Regions from separate parts of the Homo sapiens genome. Here region 1 is linked to region 2. The links are contacts of gene promoters, found by promoter capture Hi-C in blood cells and fetal thymus (Javierre and others, 2016). All regions are on one chromosome and are shown on one strand. The core of a region is centred on a gene start or on the middle of the fragment in contact, and the rest is flanking DNA. Distances in the headings are between cores, read along the strand shown. Region 1 overlaps LOC124907869 (a long non-coding RNA gene). Region 2 holds the start of IL36A (interleukin 36 alpha).

Region 1 (2,991 bases), core at 392-2,891, 400 kb after region 2:
AAGGGAAGGGGAGGCCAGGGAAGGGGAGGCAAGGGGAGGGGAGGGGAGGGAGAAGGAGGAAAGGGAAGGGAAGGGAAGGGAAAGGAAGGGAAGGGAAGGGAGGGGAGGGGAGAGAAGGGGAGGGGAGGCGAGGGGAGGGAAAGAAAGGAGGGAGGGAGGGGAGGAAGGAAGGCAGGCTTGACTGTAGCTTAGGAAGGAAGGAAGGCAGGCAGGCAGGCTTGGCTGTAGCTTAGGAAGGAAGGGGAAAATGCTTGTCTGTAGCTTAGAATTAGCACCCACACTCGACGGGAGGCGATGATACAAGGCATGTATATGAGGGAGTGGGAATTTGGGGACCACCTAGAATTATGCCTTCCCATCCCTGAGAGCATGTGCATAGCTACCAGCTATAAAGCTGCTTGGCTGCAGTGTGGTATGGGCTTCACCTGGCACTCATGTTGCTGCCATTTGGCCCCTGTTGTTTTGGTGCCGCCCTGTGCAAGGGTCACAGGGACCTGGCACCTCTGTCTACTTGCGCTTTCACCATCTGTATGAGTAATATAAACTGCCTGATCTAAAAAATGGCTCCTTGTTGCTTTCCTGACCATGCATGTCAGCCAGGCCTTGCCTTGTGCTTGATACATAGCAGCTGTGGCTCCCCCAGGCTGCTGCTTAGGGGCTGCTGCTTAGGGGCTGCTGCTTGGCCATCTGACAGGAAGATACTCGGTCTACTAAGGGAGGAAAGAATGATACATGAAGGAACCACAGGACGTGGCCAAATGTCCAGTAGGTGCTGGGGAGACACACGGGGCTGGCTCTCCTCATGCTGCATCAAGTGGGACAAAGTTGGATAAAGGGAAGTTTATTGATGCGAGAGTGCTGCTGTGGGGTATGGGATTCACACCCCAGCAAGGAGGTGAAGATAGTACTAACACTCCACTCAATGGTCTCATGGAAGCCTGGAAAAAGCAATATCCCCCAGGAAAGCAGAACTGCCAGAAATGCCGTGCAATAGTGGATACAGGAATGAGGTGGCTCAGAGAAGCAGGCATGCTGGAGTGGATATGCTACTGAGGAAAGAAAACCCACCAGGTCACCGCAGTCCACAGGGGAGCCGTGGGCACCTTCTGTTTATCCAAACGAGGAGGAATGTGCTGTTCAATGGGGCCACCAGCATCAGCAAGAAGCTTGGTGGTGACTGTGGGCTGATCGTGGGAGATGATGTTACAGAGCTATGTTCCCAATACTAATGAGGATGAGTCCTGAAATAATAGAGGCCAGGTGACAACACTTCACTGCCAGAAGAATGCTGGGTGAGATTGCTGTAATACATGGCAAGAACAGATGTAATGTATGACAGGCAGGGGAGTCTGTTCCCATAGAGAATTATAGAGATGGGCCAGGCGCTGTGGCTTACGCCTGTAATCCCAGCACTTTGGGAGGCCTAGGTGGGTGGATCACCTGAGGTCAGGAGTTCAAGACCAGCCTGGCCAACATGGTGAAACACCCCAGTCTCCACTAAAAATACAAAAAATTAGCCAGGCGTGGTGGTGGGTGCCTATAATCCCTACTACTCAGGAGGCTGAGGCAGGAGAATCGCTTGAACCCAGGAGGCAGAGGTTGCAATGAGCCGAGATGGTGCTATTGCACTCTAGCCTGGGTAACAGAATGAGATTCTGTCTCAAAAAAAAAGAGAGAGAGTATTATAGAAATGATAATAGGACATAATTTTCCTAAGGGCAAAATACAGCTTAATTTATGCAATCAGAGGGAATCAGAAATGATCAAGGCTCAAGACACATCTCAATAAAAAACTATGATCCTTTGATCAGTTTCTAGACCTGAGCCAGTACCCCTTGACTGAATGGGATGCCAGCCCACATAAGGGAGGATCCTACATCACGGCAAATGTATGTGGTAATGATTCCCTCCAATCCTTCTCCAGAAAGACCTGAGGGCATGTACTCAGGTAAATGTACACTGGGGAAAAGGGAATAATCGACCTTTCAGGAACTATTGGACACAGGATCCAAGTTAACACTGAAAATCAGAGACTCAAACATCATCATTAAAGGGGCCAGGTAATACATGGGGTGCCAGGCCAGGCCAAGTTCCTACTGGGTGCAACACAAGCTTCCAAGAGTCCTTTCCCAATGGAATCCACAGGATGCACGTAATTCCTCCAGCAACAGGTTATGACAACACATGTGAAACATTGTCTACCAGGGAGGCTCATTAGAGACTCAGTGTGTAAGGTTTTAATGCAGGGAAGGTACTTACATTGGCGTCCACTGTCTGGCATGTACCAAAATTCTAGACTCTCAGAAGGAAAAGAGGTGTTCAGCATAAGCTGAACACTTTAGATACAGTGAGACACTCCGATGAGAGAATGATGGAAATCCAACTGACTAGATGCCAGCCAAGGGCCAACCTTGCAAGCCGACTTTTCCGAGAATAGCAGGCTCAGGCCTGCTGTGTTAACTTTTTTCTACACAGGCTGTTCACTTGGAATTATATATTCAACAAAAATATATTTCAAGAATGACAGTAAAATAAAGACATTTTTGGGCTAACGATATAGAGGGTTTGCTCCAAAAAGAGCTGCCATAAATTCTGAAGGATGTGCTTATGCAGAAGAGTAATCCAGGAAGATCAGAGACGCAGGAAAGAACAAAGAACACTGATGGTACAGTACCCTGTAAGAATGTCTTCTGGGCCCAAAAGAGCAAGAGAAACACAGCATGTAAGGGGGAGAGGATGTGAGGTTAATGTAATCAAATATCCTTATATAGTTGAAGGACAGTAGAGCTATTTCTTGATTTTATACATGTTAATTATGAATGTCAAAATATGTAAAGTTAATTACTAGGCCAGGCATGGTGGCTCACGACTGTAATCCCAGCAGTTTGGGAGGCCGAGGTGGGCGGATCACCTGAGGTTAGGAGTTCGAGACCAGCCTGGCCAACATGGCGAAACTGCATCTCTACTAAAAATACAAAATCTCCTTGTCTC
Region 2 (3,120 bases), core at 513-3,012:
GCTTATGCTTGTTTACTGAAAAGGGTCAAGAGAGTTCCTGTAGTACACAGAGGCCTGCTATAATTATCTTTTTTTAATAATGGAAAATTGCGATTATTGAAGTGTTTATTACAGAGAATTATGTTTGTTCATTTAAAGTTGCAATGTATTTTTTGCCAAAAAGATGTTTTAATAAGTTCGTCTACTTTGTGATAATTAACTGCTAAAATGTCCTTGCTGATTTTACTCTGTGTGTGTGTTCTATTGAAGTTAGACATCATCCTTGCCAAATTATTAATATTTTTGTAAATTAAAATAATAAGTCATTTTAGTAGGTTTGTTTCAAAATGTCCCTGCAATTTTTCTTAGTCTTTCATAACATATACCAACCCCAAGGAAACCAAAAATAAAAATGCATGAGCATAATAAGTACATTGTCTTTTAAAAGATCCTGAAATCTGAGTTTCCATCAAATAAATGGCAGGACCTGTCTTCCACACTCACCTTCAGCTGCAGTGTGGGCTGGTCCCCGACTTTAGCACACATCAGGCAGAGATTGAGTCCATTCAGGCCCAGGTAGATGGGGTTCCCTCTGTCTTTCTCAAGGGTCTCCACATGTCGGCATGAGATTAAGGCAATAGTGACTGGGAACACGATGTGAAAAGTGGTGTTCAGCTGCCATTTCCAGGGTGGTACCTCTGAGCCAGAGTTTTAAGGGAATCTGCTAACTGACACTCACAGTGCACTCATAGAATGGTCACCTCACCACCCACCACCTAACCGGGACACCCATCCTATGTTTGGGGAACACTTTCCATTAGAAAAGTCAGTCTTTCATGGATTCAAAAACTGGTCCTCCCATAGATTACCCTCTTTTGTCCTACTCTTACTCCTTGAAGTTTCTCAGAATACGTCTTCCACTGTTTTTCATAGGCTGACCCTTCAGTCTCCCTTAAGCCTTCTCTCTCTTCTCTGACTTCATGACCATAGTCCCAGAACAACCTTATGCTCACCCTCTATTCATTATTGTCTGTGAGATGCTCCTCTCTGTAGATATGCCCGGTTAACAAGCCCACTGTGGAATAACATCTGAGCACCAAACACACAACAGCACTGGCCAAAGGAGCTGCCTTTCACAGACCGTGGCTACTCACCTGGAGACATACGGTCCTTCCTCGGGACTGCTATGAGCGTCTGGTCCTGAAGAACCCACACCCGATGATTGATATCCTGAATGCTCCCCTGCTGAGGTGTGTCAATTTTCAATGCTGTTGAGAAAGTCAAAATGTAAATTAGTAAGAATGAGAGCACAGAATATCACCCCCTTGTCAATTTTTCGCCCTTCCACGAGGATCTTTACCTTTTTCCATTGTGGTGGTGTTGTTTCAGAACTGCCAAGGATAGGAGTCCTTTTATGTGCAGACCGACCCCAAGAGAGGACCTGAGTCAGTCCCAAGCCACAGTTTAACCCTGGGTCAGATGAAAGACTGGCGGCCAGCCCAGCAGTGACCCCAGTCAGAATCTATACTCCCAGAACTCACCCAGCACCCTTACTTTGTTGGATGCAGTCTACCTCCAGCAGAAGCAGCTGCACCTATGAATCCTGCCCAGGCCTAGACCCAGGAACTCTAATATGACAAAGAGTGCCAAGGCCAAAGACCTGGAAGCAAAAAAAATCAGAGGTCACCAGACTTTCCAGCATAGGCCACACTGATAATCTGTTACGAAGGACCCTGTATCCCTACCATTATGAACAATGGCTTCTACTGCACTTGGGTTTTCTGACAGGCTGTAACAGGGCCCAGGCCTTTTATCCACATGGGCAAGGAAGGAAGTTCTGCCTCACTAAGTCTGGCACTGCCCAACACTCAGGATATTTTCTAGTTCCTGATGCCAGAGGATTTAGTGACTCTTTATGTGAACAGCATGGTTAAGACTTCTCCAAGCAACCTGAAACATGAGGGCATGCTAAACTTTTAAGAGCAGGAAATATAGTCACAGATACTGAGTTGAGAAACATTACGGGACTTCTTCCGGGTCAATGACTCATCTCTGATGCCACAAAATGAAACGATGGAATTATTCCTAAGAGTGGGAGCCCTCAGTAAGTGCAAGGTAGACTGAGGAGGGATAGGTCTCTTAAGACCTCTGTAGCTTCTAATCACTCCTGGTCCACAGGAACTATATTCTTGGTCAATTTCAGACCAGAAGCCCACTCACTCCAGTGACCCTCCTCCAGCTTCTCAGAGCCACTGTGCATGCTGCTTCTCCATGGAAGAAGGGAGTATTACTGTAGCAAAGCCAGCTCCTGAGCACTCTAGCCACCTCAATGGACTCTAGATCACTATCTCTAGTATAGGTAGCGTGATAGTAAATTTTAAGTGTCAATTTGACTGGTTTAAGGAATACTTAAAGAACTGGTAATACATTAGTTTGGGGTAAGTCTATGAGGGTGTTTCCAAAGAAGATTGGTGTGTAAGTCAGTGTACTAGTGGGGAACATCTACCCTCAACGTAGGTGGGATCCATCCAACTGGCCGGGGGCATGGATGGCATGGAAAAGACAGAGAAAAGGTGATTTTCTGTCTCTCCTGGAGCTGGGGCATTCTCTCCTGCCTTTGGACATTATAACTCCAGACTTTGGACTCCAGGACTTAATATCAGCATCTCCCTGGGTTCTCAGGCTTTCTATCCCAAAGTGAGAATTACACCAGTGGCTTCCTAGTTCTGAGGCTTTAGGACTTGAACTGAGCATGTTACCTGCATCCCAGGGTCTCCAGCTTGCAGGTGGTCTGTCATGGGATTTCTCAGCCTCCAAAATTGCATGAGTTCATTCCCCTAATAAATCCCCTTTCATACAAGAGGTCATCAAAAAGTTCATGGAAAATGCATATTATGAAAAAAACTATGCATGGATTTTGAATTATTTTGCACCAAAATAAACTCCTACTAACTTGTTATAAGGTGTTTGAACAGGATCTAGTTTGAGGCACTAAGAAAGGTAAGACATCAGTTTGAAAAGAGCCCCTATAAGATCAACATGAATTCTTCTAAAATTGAAGCAAGAACAAAAATCAAATTTATGGTGAAACTTGGGTGGAAGAATGGTGAAATCATTGATGGCTTATAAAAAGTTTGTGGG

Evidence for each region. Contacts are between HindIII fragments. The CHiCAGO score rates a contact against its expected background, and 5 or more counts as called.
Region 1: a fragment that was not itself captured here is called in contact with the fragment with the promoter of IL36A in region 2 in 1 of 17 cell types (M2 macrophages); the score reaches 5.2 in M2 macrophages.

The regions. Positions count from the first base shown.
Region 1 is chr2:112,604,321-112,607,311 of GRCh38, reverse strand. The region is part of intron 1 of LOC124907869 (a long non-coding RNA gene); the gene reads right to left. Among named protein-coding and RNA genes, the nearest start is that of CHCHD5, 21 kb to the right of the region's middle. The HindIII fragment of the contact is 946 bases long and covers 1,169-2,114 here.
Region 2 is chr2:113,004,101-113,007,220 of GRCh38, reverse strand. It overlaps IL36A (interleukin 36 alpha), which reads right to left and starts at 1,762. Exons shown (of 4, transcript NM_014440.3): 1 at 1,340-1,762; 2 at 1,134-1,247; 3 at 484-623. The coding sequence starts at 1,349. The HindIII fragment of the contact is 6,987 bases long and covers 1-3,120 here.